Linked DNA regions of Homo sapiens: all the other regions are linked to region 4. The links are contacts of gene promoters, found by promoter capture Hi-C in blood cells and fetal thymus (Javierre and others, 2016). All regions are on one chromosome and are shown on one strand. Each heading gives the region's core, a stretch centred on a gene start or on the middle of the fragment in contact. The rest is flanking DNA. Distances are from core to core; before and after follow the strand shown. Region 1 overlaps SPTLC3 (serine palmitoyltransferase long chain base subunit 3). Region 2 has its middle 69 kb from the start of ISM1-AS1. Region 3 overlaps ISM1 (isthmin 1). Region 4 holds the start of ISM1 (isthmin 1). Region 5 overlaps SPTLC3 (serine palmitoyltransferase long chain base subunit 3).

Region 1 (2,700 bases), core at 198-2,697, 93 kb before region 4:
TAAATCAAGCCATGTGATAAATGCACAAAACTGCCGTTAGCACACCATACAAAAACCCTTTGTTAAAGCAAAGAAAACTTTCTAATTTACCTCATTGTGAACAGCAAATTTCGATAATTTTGTGTGATCAATTCTGTTGAAATTAAGCAAATATTGTTTGTGTGCGTGTGTGTGCGCGCACGTGAGCGTGCACATGTTTGCCTGTGCTTGCTTGGGGCTGTCACTTGTGTTTCCCTAAGACCAAAGTAGCCAATTTAATATCCAATTTTTCAATCCTTTTATTTTTTATAGCCAGAGGTTGGACAGTGGAAGGCCACCACTGGCCATTGAGGATATATAGACAAAACACACACAATAAGCTTCCAGCCATTTCTTTGTCAGTGGGACCAGAGCTAAACTGTGCTACTTTGCTCAACCCAAATTAATCCTCTTTTTGAAAAATTGTTTCATAAAAGCCTCTTGGAACTCTCCCTCCATCTTGCAGAGATGGTTTATACAGATTCTACCACATGTCACACACCAGAGGGGATACGGTGCTGAATAAGGCAGTTCTTGCTGCCAGGCAAACTGGTGAGCACATTTATGGAAGTAGCAATTTATCCTGGCCACTGGACTGTACAATCTATGTGCCTCACCCCACCTCCCAGCTGACCTGAAGTCCTACATTGTTTAATGCAATGCTTCAAGCCTGCTATTTCAGTAGAAGTATGGGGTACTCCATCAGTTTTCAATATTATTAAAGCAGCAGAATATTCACATACAAATTTTGCTAGAAGCCTACTATATAAAACAGATAAGAACAAGGCTGATCTAGTTAAAGTAGTGTCTTCACTTACCCCCATACTGATACCCCCTGGGGCCCTTCTACTGAGCCCTAGTGCTCCCCAAGACACTTGTTTGAAAGACAAGACTTTTTCTTTTTCACTAAAGCAGGGTAAAGGCCTGCAGGAGGATATTTTTTCCTCCATATGAAATGCGGTGATTGGCTGATCTCTAGGATCCCTTCCAGGCTTGCCTTTTCGGTGTTATGACTCTGCATCCTATTGGTTGGTCTTTGTGAAAAGAAAACGACAGTCCAGTCTAGGAAGCCCTTATGGTATGAGACTGAAGGTAGCTGCCTGAATCTGCTCCTGTGATACTATTCACTCGTATGTGGCCTTAGATGAGTGACTTATCTATTCAACCCTGAGCAAGTTACTCAACTTCTCTGTACTTCAATTCATCCAGTTATGAAGTGAGAAAAACAATATTTATGAGCCAAGGTTTTTGTGAGAAGTAGGCAAATTAATCTGTACAAAATATTTAACATTGTGTCTGGAGACAAGTATCAGTAAGCATTGTATAATTGCTTGCTACTATTATTTGCTGTTGTTTCTGAGGTGATCGACAAGTATTTGAAGCATTTCTCAGAGATGCTGTAGGAAGCATCCTTATGACAGAAGTGAAGTAGGACTAGATGTCCTCTAAGATCCTGGATTAGTCAGGATAAGGGAGGTTTTGCCACCATAACAAATAAACCCTGTAGATCTCAGTGGCTTAACAGAACCAAGGTATTTCTTGTTTGCATCACATCTAATACCAATCAGTCAACTCTCTACACAGTGCTTGTCCTTGAAGACAGTGACTCAGGCTGCTTTCACCTTAAGGGTTCATCATCTCAACACATGGCCCCCATGGTTACCAAGGTAAAAAGAAAGAGAGGGTCAGCCTAGAGGTGACTCTTATCACCTTGCTTACAATTATTGGCTAAAACTAGTCATATGGCCACACCCCTGAAAAGAGGTAGGGGTAAATTAAGGGATACAGACATTGGATAAACAGGTACCTTTTATTTTGGAGGGGGAGGAGGTTCTTTTTTGTTTTTTGGGTTTTTTTAAAATTTGAGACAGAGTCTTGCTCTGTCACCCAGGCTGAAGGGCAGTGACATGATCTTGGCTCACTACAACCTCCACCTCCCAGACTCAAGTGATTCTCCTGCCTTAGCCTCCTGAGTAGTCAGGACTACAGGTGTGCACCAACAGGCATGCACCACCATGCCCAGCTAATTTTTTTTTTTTTTTTTTTTTGGAGACAGAGTTTCGCTCTTGTCACCCAAGCTGGAGTACAATGGTGCGATCTCAGCTCACTGCAACCTCCGCCTCCTGGGTTCAAGCAATACTCCTGCCTCAGCCTCCCGAGTAGCTGGGATTACAGGTGTCCCCCACCATGCCTGGCTATTTTTGTATTTTTAGTAGAGATGGGGTCTCGCCAGATTGGTCTCAAACTCCTGACCTCGGGTGATCTGCCTGCCTCGGCCTCCCAAAGCACTGGGATTACAGGCACGAGCCACCACACCTGGCCAATTTTTGTATTTGTAGTCGAGACGGGGTTTCACCACGTTGGCCATGCTGGTCGGGAACACCTGGCCTCAAGTGATTTGCCCACCCCAGGCTCCTAAAGTGCTGGGATTACAGGCGTGAGCCACTGTGCCTGTCTTAAACAGGTATCTTTTAACCTTTTAACATTGAAGCGAGATAGAGTGGCATCTTTTCCTCCACAAGCTTTCTGCTGTATGAAAAACTGTTCTGGAACTACTGGCTTCCCACAAAGCCATATTAATTCTCTTCTTAAACTTCAAGTGTTTCTTAATGGAAAATCAATTATTTGAGATTTAAGCAAAAATGCAAGTTAACTGAATTGTCTCAGAATGACTAGAATTAT
Region 2 (2,700 bases), core at 94-2,593, 87 kb after region 4:
TTCAGGAAAAAGACCACATTTGAATCCCTCTTGAGGGCTCCCTCCTGCTATTACAGGATATTGGAGGGAGAGAGAAAGAACAAAAGCAGCTGATCCAGTGCCAGAAAGATAAAGGCTTGTTCACACTACTCACCAGCAGCAAATGTATAAAGCTGAAGCTTAACATCAAACTCACTTTCTGTTCCACTCTTCACTATGTCTACACAGCACCATTCCAGTCAACCTCCCCACAGCATTCCTCCCATCCCCTCGGCCACACATTTGACCCTCTTATAGCCAATTGGCCATCCTTTGGGCCAGTCTTTTTCAAAATACTTTTGGAACATTTTATGGAAGTAGTACATACATTCAGAAAAGCACACACGTATCATAAGTTCACGGCTCAATGAATTTTCACAAAGTGAATACACCCATGTCACCAACATCCATACCAACACCAAGAAAAAACAGAATATAAGGCTCATGAAGGAGCTCTCTGGGGCTACAGAAATGTTCTATATATTGTGTGGTTTGATTGTCAAAACTCACTGAAGTGTACACTTTTTAAAAACTGAATTTCTTTGTATGTAAATTTTACCACAACACAAAATAAATAAGGCAAAACCAGCACTCCCATGCCCCCGTCCAGTAACGGGCACTCACTCCTCACCAAGAATAATCAGTATCATGAATTTTACACCAGATTAGTTTTGTCTGATTTTGACCTTCGGGTAAATGGAATCGTACAGCACCCGCTCTGTGAGGTCTGGCATATTTTGCTCAATATTGGATTGTGAAATTCTTCCATATCGCTGCTTGCAGCTAAAGGTCATTCATGCTTATCACATTTCCAATGTGTGAATATATCACAATTTTATTTAACAGTTCTACCATGGAGGAACATTTGGATTGTTTCTAGATTGGGGCTTTCACAAAGAGTGCTACTATGGACAGTCCAGGGTGTGCTTTTGGGTGTGCGTATTCACACATTTCCATGGGGAGTGGAATTAGAAGGTCATAGGGCATGCACAGCTTTAGTTGATACTGCCCAGTAGTTTTCCAAAGTGGTTGTCCTGGTGGACACTCCGTTTAGGAGTGTTTGAAAGTTCCCATTCTTTAGCCAATCTCAATTTCACCCCCTTCACTGTCTTTCCTGACTACTCCACTCTGTGATCTCTTAATTATTTATGTTTAACTCAATACGTGCATACTGAGCCCCATTCACTGTGCTGCGTGCTGGGGACACAAAAAGGAATAGACAGGAATCCATCATCAATGAATGAATGGCCCAGTGGGGGTGTCTGTAACACAGTGTGAATCTGATGTAACTCAGATGCTTGTAATACAATGTAAATGGTACCATGGGACCAAATGAGGGTGTGATTAATTATGGCAGTAATAACTAGTGAGCCAGAATTTATACATTATTATTTAGGAAAATAAACCCAATGATTCCAAGTCTTGGCAAGGCGATGAGGAAACAGAAACTCTTACCATCACCGCTTATGGTGTTATGAATTGAACAGTACTTTGCCTATATCTAGTAAGTTGAATCTGCCACATAGCTGGATGCATCAGTTTCACTCCTGAGGGCCTGTTTTTGTATTGTCAAAAAGTGGAAACAGTTTAAATTGTCCACCAACAGAGGAACAGACAAATCAACCATGTTAAGTTCATAATAGAGAATACAATCCAGCTGTTAAATGATCTAGGCTATTCGTATTGTCAAAAATGTGTCTATACTGTCTGAAAAAGAAAATTACAGATGGATGCATGTTAGGTACAGAACATTTGTGTTCCCCCAAAATTTAAATGTTGAAATCCTAACCCCCAAAGTTATGATATTCGGAGGTGCAGCTTATGGGAGGTTATTAGGTCATGAGGGTGGAACCCACATGAATGAGATTAGCATCCTTACAAAAGGGACCCCGAGAGAGCTCTCTTGCCCTCTTTCCACCATGTAAGCACAAAATGAGAGGTCAGCAGTCTATAAACCAGAAGAGGACTCTCAGCAAAATCTGGCCATGCTAGCACCTTGATCTCAGACTTCCAGCCTCCAGAAATGTGAGAAATACATTTCTGTTGTTTATAGGCCACTCAGTCTATGGTAGTTTGTTGTATCAGCCTGAACTGACTAAGACAGTATATGAAAGTAGTATACAATTTTAATAATTTAAAACTCACAATGCAAGGCTACATTATATCTGGACACCAACATACATAATAAAAATACTAAACTATGCATGGGAAGACTAAGCACCAACTTCAAGACAATAGTTACCTCTGAGATGAATGACAGTGAGTGGGTGGAGGAGGGGATACTTTAGAGGTAACATTTTATTTCTTTAAAAAAAAAAAGCCTAACAGAATAAAGGACAAAACATTTTATGCTCATCTCAAGAGATGAAGAGAGTATTTGACAAAATTGAATATTATTTCATAATAAAAACTCTCAATGAATTAGGTGTAGAAGAAATGCACCTCAACACAATCAAGACCATATAGCACAAGCCCACAGCTAACATCATACTCATCAGTGAAAAGTTCATTAAAGCTTTTAACCATCAGTGAAAAGCTTTTCCTCCAAGATCAGGAACAAGACAAGCATGCTCACTCTTACTGCTTATATTCAGCACAGTTCTGGAAATCTTAGCCAGAACAAGTAGGCAAGAAAAAGAAATAAAAGGCATCTAAATCAGAAGACAGGAAGTGAATTTATCT
Region 3 (2,700 bases), core at 163-2,662, 69 kb after region 4:
AGTGACATTGTCTTTTTAAAAGATGCACTACTTTTCTTTTCTTTTTTTTTTTGAGACGGAGTCTCTCCCTGTCGCCCAGGCTGGAGTGCAGTGGCACAATCTCAGCTCACTGCAATCTCCACCTCCTGGGTTCAAGCAATTCTCCTGCCTCAGCCTCCTGAGTAGCTGGGATTACAGGCACATGCCACCATGCCTGGCTAATTTTTGTAGTTTTTTAAGTAGAGAAGGGGTTTCACCATGTTGGCCAGGTTGGTCTCAAATTCCTGACCTTGTGATCCGCCCGCCTCAGCCTCCCAAGGTGCTGGGATTACAGGCATGAGGCAAGATGTAACTACTTTTCTAATAAGACTTCTGACCAGAGTGAGTCAGGAGATAATTGATGAGCTGAATGGATTTTCTGAGTCTTATGCACAATTGCAGTGGCCGTGACCTAAAAGACAATGTCGCATTGTACTTATTTAATTTAGAGGAGGGACTCTGGTTAGATTGGGTTTTTGATGTGGGATTTGTTGTCCCTTGAAGAGAAACAGAAGGCAGACACTCATGGTCTGATGAGGAAGCCAGGATGAGAGGCTTGACAACCATCTGCAGGAAAAAGACAGCCCCACCGGTAATACCAGAGAGTTGCCAAAGGCTCCCAGGAGCGCAACCTGGGGCGTCTTGGTAGTTAACTGTCACTTTATACTGCATTGTCAGTGCTTCAAAAACTAAACTAATTGCACACTTGGTGAGAGGTCATGTTGAGAGTCAACAATAATTGTGATTGACTATAGCAGTGGTTGTCAAACTATGGCCAGGTCTGGCTCGAGACCTGTTTTTGTGTGTCCCATACATTTTTAAACTGTTGTGAAGAGAAGAAGAAAGAGAAGGAGGAGGAAGAAGAGAAGGGGAAGGGCATGGAGGAAGAGAAGGAGGAGGAGGAGGGGGAGGAGGAGGAAGAGGAGGAGGAAGCTGCAACCAAGACCATATGTGACCCACAAAACCTAAAATATGTACCCTCTGACCCTTTAAAAAAGGCTTAGTAACTCCTGGTGTATAGTCTTACTGTGTATTTCCCATTGCCAGGTAGAATACCAGCCTAAAATAATATCTTAGAGCCTTTCAAGAAACCACACATTCCAAATGGCTTTGGCTGAAAAAAATTTCAGAGACAGAAAATCTGATCCTTACACCCCAGACTTCCTTTTTCTACCTTAGACACTCAGTTCTCCAACCAGAGACATTTGGAACAAAGGAGAAATGAAAGCACAAAGGCGTTTCTGAGGAGAGGGAGGAAGAATCAGATTGGAATGAATGTGTATGTTAGCAAAAGGGGACACGTAGAAAACAGGGCTGAAATGCAAGAAGTGGCGGTTCTGGCTCCATGTCAGCCATGCAGATGGATTTCAAAACAGTGGAGCAACCATTACGGTGCTTTTCCTGACTTTCCCATGCTCATTAGGATGAGCTGAGTTGGAAGCCTGGTGGGTGGAATCTGGATGTGTAGAAATAAGCAATAAATAATAACAATATGAGGAGGAGGAAGAGGGAAACAGGAAGGAAATGAAAAAGAGAAGAATATGAAGTAAACGAAAATAATGATGAAGGTAAAAAGATGAGGCAAAAGAAAATGAAGATTGCCTGGTGCGGTGGCTCATGCCTGTAATCCCAGCACTTTGGGAGGCCGAGGCGGGCAGATCACAAGGTCAGGAGATCGAGACCATCCTGGCTAACACGGTGAAATGCCGTCTCTACTAAAAATACAAAATATTAGTCGGGCATGGTGGCGGGCGCCTGTAGTCCCAGCTACTCGGGAGGCTGAGGCAGGAGAATGGCAGGAACCCGGGAGGCGGAGCTTGCAGTGAGCCAAGTGAGCCGAGATCGGGCCACTGCACTCCAGCCCGGGCGACAGAGCAAGACTCCGTCTCAAAACAAAAAAAGAAAGAAAGAAAATGAAGATAAAGGTGAAGAAGAAAAAATAAAATAGATGATGATGAAGAAGATTTTTTGAGTACTTAAGTGTCAAGCAAATGGCTAAAGTCCTTACAGGTATTATTTTGTTTAATGTTCACAATAACTTTATGAAATAGGTATTTATGATTGTACTCATTCGACAGCTATAGTAACTGAGGCATAGAGGATTAACTTGCCTAGAGTCACACAGAAAGCAAGTGATCAACCTGGAATTTGAATCCGGACAGTCTGATTACAGAGTTCATATTCTTAATCATTAAACTCTTTGGTCTTTACCAAGAGAAGGGTATTGGAATCAGCCACACAGGGACACAGATAGCATTTGAAGTCAAGGTTTGGGGGCTTTCCTGTTGTTTTCTCTTCCAGAGCTCACATCCAGACTCAAGGTGGTAGATTTAAGTGCCTTGTCAGGGGAAGGCTCCCCTCTGCCTCCATTTACAAATGTTTCCTTCTTGTTTTCTGTCACCGCGGAGAGCAGTGTGGCCAGGAGCCCTCTTCATACCTTTTCTTCTCGTGTGTCCTCACCCTCCTTGCATCCTTTCTGCCTCTCAGTTCCTGGCTATTGCAGCTTTTCTGGGCTCCCTTGTAACATGAAGGATTTCGTTTTTAAGGATCTCTTTACTTGTTTGATTCGTTGATTCCCAGCTTTCCTGGAAAGACTCATGGGGCAAAGTCTCCCTGGCCTGGCAGTTATTACACTGTAAAAGTTTGTCCTGTAGGTCAACCCTGCAAATAAGTTTGAGGTGC
Region 4 (2,700 bases), core at 1-2,500:
CGGAGGCTCCATCCCGGAGGCACTGGGGTCCGGGACGCGGGAAAGGCTTGGAAATGTGCGACGCGGCTGTGTGCGAACGCGTGGACTAGGTCTTGGCTCGCTGGGAGGGAAGGGCTGGGCCGGCGCTGGGGAGGAGGAAGGGAGGGAACGGGTAGGAGGAGGGGAAGCGCAGTATAAAAGTCCCGGCCGGACTGAGCGTCCGCTACTCCGAGTCACTTCGGTAAGGCGGGAGCCCGAGCAAGGTCAAGGAGGGAAGTGCGCGGTGCCACGGACCGACACAGTTCGCTCTAGCATCTGACGCTCGGACTCCGCGCCCTCAGCCGGATCCCAGAGCCCTTCCATTCGCCAACCGCCCACTGCAAGGCATGAGCCGCACGCGGGAGCCCGAGGCTGCAGCGCGGTCATGAGGCGGTGGCCCGGGATCGACAGCTGCGCGACGCCAGCCCCCAAATCCCCTCTGGGCGCGGCACCCCCGGGATGAGCCCCCCACAGAGGCAAGCCCACTAGAGCTGAGATTCACTCCGAGTTCCTGAGCGCCTGAGCCGCGGGCACTGCGTCTCTGCAGCTTCCAGCCAACACCTGCGCCCGTGACCAGACGAACGCCTAGAGAGTCGGACTCCCCTCCCTTCCCAGGCTCTACGGGGCGCCGCGGATCCGCGAACAGCCGTGCCCGGCTAGCGGGCGGCCCAGCAAGTGTCAAGACCCTTCGGAACGACACTTTGGCACTCCTCCTCTCCCCCGACTGCTTCAGGCAGGGGTCGCAGGCAGACGCATGGCTTGTCCGGCGCCCCCTCCGTTTTCCATCACTGCAACTCCAGCTCCAGTTTGCCAATAAAGGTTTCTAAAGCAGCCCAGGCACCACCCCACCCACCCACAGCCCCGAGCCTCAGTGTGCACAAGGGCTCTACCCGCGCCCGTCACAGCGACCTCGGCAGCGGGCACTTGGTACAGCCCGGCAGGCTGACGCTGCCGCCGAGGGCGCCCCGGCTACCGCCAAACCGTGACAACCTCGGTGTGCCCGGGGCCCCCATCTGGAACCGGCCCTCCCCGGGACTCCGAGTGCGGGGCGGCGCGGCAGGCGGCCCCGAGGAGCGCGGAGAGTAGTGGAGGTGGCTTGCCGGGTGAGTGGCTCGGGGCGGCGAGGGCGGGGGCGCCAAGCGTGGAGGTAACTCCCGGCCGCAGCTGAAGCCCTCCTACTCCTCCTCCTCCTCCTCCTCCTCCTCCTCCTCCTCCTCCTCCTTCTCCTTCTCCTCCTCCTCCTCCCCGCGCTTCTCTGGCGGCCGCTCCCGCTCCAGCTGCGGCGCCGCGGCCACATCTGGGGCGCCCATGTGCGCTCGGGGGCTCGGCTGCGCCCGCCCCGCCGCCGACCCCGCAGCCCCCTGCCAGCAGGGTGGCCTCCGGCCCGGCCCGGGTCCCGGGCTGTCCCGGGACCCAGTCTCCGTCTCCGCCGCCGCCGCCGCCAGGCAGCGCCGGGGCTTGCTCCGCAGCCGGCTTGGACACCCCCGGCCTCGCGGTGGCTCCGCCGTGGTGCGGCGGCGGCGGCGGCGGCGGCGCCGGCAGCTCCTGCTCCCCCGGCCCCGCACACCCCGCCGCGCCCAGCGCCAGCCCCGCGGGCCCGGGAAGCGGAGCCCTGGCGGGAGCCGAGGCGGGAGCCGCGCTGCCGGGCTCCCGGGCTCCTACTCCTCCTCCCCCGGCGTCACCGCCGCCGCCGCCGGCCGCCGCGCCGGGTCCTAAAGCCGCGCGTCTCAAAAGGATGGTGCGCCTGGCGGCCGAGCTGCTGCTGCTGCTGGGGCTGCTGCTGCTCACGCTGCACATCACCGTGCTGCGCGGCTCGGGAGCCGCCGACGGGCCCGACGCGGCCGCGGGCAACGCCAGCCAAGCCCAGCTGCAGGTGAGTGCGCCGCCGGAGAGGGCCGTGCGCGGCTGCGGGGACGGTTTGTGGGGCGGGGGTGCTGAGCTAGTGCCGGGTGGATGCAGGGAGGCAGGTCCCCTGCCCCACCTAAGAGCAACTGTTTTGGCAGTAGTTTTGCCCGGGCCACTTGACTTAGGCAGAGGCGGAGCGGGGGCACGTGCCTGGAGGCTGCACCCGGCTTCCAGGTCTGCGGGCTGCGCTCCTTCAGTTCTGTCTGTCACGGGTCAGGTGCGGGGTTGGTGGGGAGGTGGGAAGGAGCGAGGTTTGGGATGAGCAGAGGAAGTGTGGAGAATGTGCTTGCTTGGGGGTGCTACCAGTCTTTCGTTGCCCTTCGGAGGCTGAGTAATGTTACTCGAGGCTGGAGGGACGCAAGGAGACTTTATAGGATGATATCCCTGAAGTCTTTGGGAGAAAGAACTCCGGGAGTCTACCCCTTTAGGAAGCAATGCCAAAGGTCAGGACATAATTTCCCAAGGAGAATAGCCAGGCATCCCCTCCTCACCCTCAGGGTTCCCTTGCTTCCAGTGTTCCTCTTCCTCCGGGAGCCTCGCCTGAGGTTCCCCCCTCCCCCCTTGTGCCCCCTTGGTCATGGGGAAGGTGCAGAGTGAAGGCACCGGTAGTGATTTGGGCCAGGGTTACCTGGGGCTTTTAAACTTGTAGCAAAGTCTTTCTCCCAAGGATCTTCCCCGTTGAAGGTCGCTTTAGCAATGGGATTCTGTTTATCCATTTCAACTTCAGGGCAAGGAGAGGGCGTAGTGGACGGTCAGACATAATGTGAGTTCTGACTT
Region 5 (2,700 bases), core at 182-2,681, 110 kb before region 4:
AAAAAATATGCCCATAAACCTCGGCCATTTTTTTCTTGCTAGGCTTAAATGTTAAAAACAAAATAATACACACACATGTACATATATACCAAACAGCTAGGTTGGTAGGCAAGTTCTTCTAAATGACCTCTCAACCCAAGCCCAGTCATCAACCTCTGATAGCAGATAAATGAATTGTCACTATTGATTATATTTGACATTAGAAGTTAACAAGATTATTCTGCCAGACATTCATCCTCCCTTGTTCTACATCACCATTTCATTTGAGAAGAAGGGACAATGGCTTTCACATAAGGCAGCAAAGGGTAGTGTTACAAATGTGGATTACAGTACAGACTACATGGGTTCAAATCCTGATTCTGTTGCTTATGATAGACCTCAGGCAGTTTACTCAACTCCTCTGTGTCTCAGTTTCCTGAACCACAGAATGGAAATGCTACTAGTACTTCCTCCAGATGGTTCTTATGAGGATTAAATGAGGTATGACAAAAACTGAGCTTAGAAGGGTGCCTGGCACACAGATAGGGCTCAATAACTGTGAGCTATTATTGTGTTCAGAGATCCCCAAATATTTTGAAAAAGAGGCTTAATTGTCCCACTGCTTTAAAGTTTTGAAACTTCTAAGACTGGGGGATGTCAGAAATCAAGGCTCAAAGTGTAGGAAGTGAGATCCGTGCAAACTCAGCTAAACTCTAACATGCTCATGTCTACACGATTGATGAGTGGTATTAATTATGTCTCTCAGAGTTCATTTCAGCCTGCAACAAAGCTTAGACCTAAGAGATGCATTTAACGTAGAATTTCAATCTCTCTAAGGCAGGCGGGGAGAGCCTTTAAGAGCCTAGGAAACCATGCCCCACTGGTGAGAGTTTACTCTGCCTACTTGTACAAATCCAACTATTTGTCTTGTCAGAGTTAAGTTCTACTGAAAAATAGACCTCTGTCTCTCTCTCCCTAAGGGTTCTCTGATTCTGAATTTGTTCTCTGAAAGTTTAGGTCTGAGTGTGAACATAAAACATCTGGAAAAAGAAAGTGGAAAAGGAAAAGTAAACCCTTTCATGACTCAATTTTTTTTTTTGGTATTATTTAAAGACACACAAAGCCTAGAGAAGCTCCTGAGAGATGCTGTCATCTATGGCCAGCCTCGAACCCGCAGAGCTTGGAAAAAGATTCTCATCCTGGTGGAGGGTGTCTACAGGTATGTAAATAACAGGACACATTTTACGACTCGGAGGCCTGCAGCAAGCTGACCAGTGCGGAAAGGCTCACCTTTCCTAGCTAAACAGAGAAATGACTTAGAATTGGTTATATGACACAGGGACCTGAGACAGAGCCACCAATGGGAGCTGTCAGACGTGGGTTATCTGTCTTTTTGATGACTCTATATATGGCACAGCAGCTTGGAGGCTGGCCGGCTTGTGAAGGCTTCCTCAGAAATATCCTCTCAAGGCATTGCTAACTTGAGTTGATCTTTCCACTACCTTTGACTGCCCCAGAGTTTCAAAGGCGTTTCGCAGCTGGGTTATTCAAGATCAAAACACTCCTTGCCTTTATGACTGGTAGAAATTGTTGATGGGTGGCCCGGATGCCCCTACCTGGACAGCACGCCCAACCCCCAGCTGCTTGCTGAACTTTGTTAGTGATTGCCATCAATACAAAAGATCTGCCTGTTTTCCCCAAGGTAGGAGTAACCTGGGGTGCAATTCTTGTTCCAGAGCCAGCGGGTAGGAATGGGCTGATGTCTAGTCCATAAGCCAAGGAGACATTATTTCAGAGTGCCCAATCCTGAATCAATTCTCAAACAATCCTGACGTTAGGCAAATTGAGGGGGATATCTCCTATAATGATAGAAAAGTGAAAAATATTAAAAGGAAGGAAGTGAAGGCTGTTCAACTTTAAGACAAGGAGGAGTGTGGCTACAAAGGAGACTTGAGGATAGACATAGGATTTCTTTCAGCCCGCTAATCTCATTAGTCCCTGAGTGCACATTTTTTCTGCTGCATGAGTGGATAATGAGCAGCAGCAGAAGTGTGCCTTTATTCCTTTTAAGAAAAAAAAAGTGAATTCTCCCAACTCTAAAATAATAATAATAAGAAGCTTGGTTTCATTTTATTTTTAACATTTTTAACTCCAGTACTTCTGCCCCCATGGTTAGGGTTCTGGATGTTCCCAGTCCTACTGTGGGAAATGCAAAGTTTGCATTTCCAGTTTCTACCAGCTCACTTTCTGCATCACCTACCATTACCTCCTCCAGCCAGCCCAGAGAGTATGTACTGTTGATGAAGTCTTTGGGAGCACTCTAGACATAGTAGTTCTCCAGGGTGAGCTTGTCCTTGCCCCAGCCTAGGCACATTTGGCGATTTTCAGTCATTATAACTGCAGTAGTGTGTGACTGGCATATGGTGGACAGAGGCCAGGGATGCTGCCAAGCATCCTACGATGCATGGGACAGCCCCTACAACACAGAGTTATCTAGCTCAAAATGTCGATAGTGCTAAGGCTGAGAAAACCTGTTCTGGTATAACTGACAACTCGTAGGCCTTAACTTGCAATTTTAAGAAATAATCTCATATTGACTCTGGGCTGTCATAACCTCAAGCATGGATCTTTTTCCCTGTGTGATTTGTGCCTGCTGCCAGCCTGGGAGGGGAGCAAATAGCCCTTATCTAAACACCTGTCATTCAGGCCTAGATTCGTGGG

What was found. Contacts are between HindIII fragments. The CHiCAGO score rates a contact against its expected background, and 5 or more counts as called.
Region 1: a contact is called between a fragment that was not itself captured here and the fragment with the promoter of ISM1 in region 4, in 1 of 17 cell types (naive CD4 T cells). The highest score is 7.2, in naive CD4 T cells.
Region 2: a fragment that was not itself captured here is called in contact with the fragment with the promoter of ISM1 in region 4 in 1 of 17 cell types (naive CD4 T cells); the score reaches 5.2 in naive CD4 T cells.
Region 3: a fragment that was not itself captured here is called in contact with the fragment with the promoter of ISM1 in region 4 in 1 of 17 cell types (naive CD4 T cells); the score reaches 5.2 in naive CD4 T cells.
Region 5: a fragment that was not itself captured here is called in contact with the fragment with the promoter of ISM1 in region 4 in 2 of 17 cell types (naive CD4 T cells and non-activated CD4 T cells); the score reaches 6.7 in naive CD4 T cells.

The regions. Positions count from the first base shown.
Region 1 is chr20:13,126,827-13,129,526 of GRCh38, forward strand. The region is part of intron 9 of SPTLC3 (serine palmitoyltransferase long chain base subunit 3); the gene reads left to right. It also overlaps a transcript of TASP1 not described here. Among named protein-coding and RNA genes, the nearest start is that of ISM1, 93 kb to the right of the region's middle. The HindIII fragment of the contact is 2,181 bases long and covers 358-2,538 here.
Region 2 is chr20:13,306,961-13,309,660 of GRCh38, forward strand. It overlaps a transcript of TASP1 not described here and a transcript of ISM1 not described here. Among named protein-coding and RNA genes, the nearest start is that of ISM1-AS1, 69 kb to the left of the region's middle. The HindIII fragment of the contact is 2,375 bases long and covers 157-2,531 here.
Region 3 is chr20:13,288,751-13,291,450 of GRCh38, forward strand. All of the region lies in intron 4 of ISM1 (isthmin 1), which reads left to right. It also overlaps a transcript of TASP1 not described here. Among named protein-coding and RNA genes, the nearest start is that of ISM1-AS1, 50 kb to the left of the region's middle. The HindIII fragment of the contact is 2,878 bases long and covers 1-2,700 here.
Region 4 is chr20:13,220,024-13,222,723 of GRCh38, forward strand. ISM1 (isthmin 1) reads left to right here and starts at 1,251. Exons shown (of 6, transcript NM_080826.2): 1 at 1,251-1,891. The coding sequence starts at 1,754. It also overlaps a transcript of TASP1 not described here. RefSeq lists silencers at 1,034-1,153, 1,613-1,682. The HindIII fragment of the contact is 8,964 bases long and covers 1-2,700 here.
Region 5 is chr20:13,109,020-13,111,719 of GRCh38, forward strand. It overlaps SPTLC3 (serine palmitoyltransferase long chain base subunit 3), which reads left to right. Exons shown (of 12, transcript NM_018327.4): 7 at 1,093-1,198. It also overlaps a transcript of TASP1 not described here. Among named protein-coding and RNA genes, the nearest start is that of SPTLC3, 100 kb to the left of the region's middle. The HindIII fragment of the contact is 1,328 bases long and covers 768-2,095 here.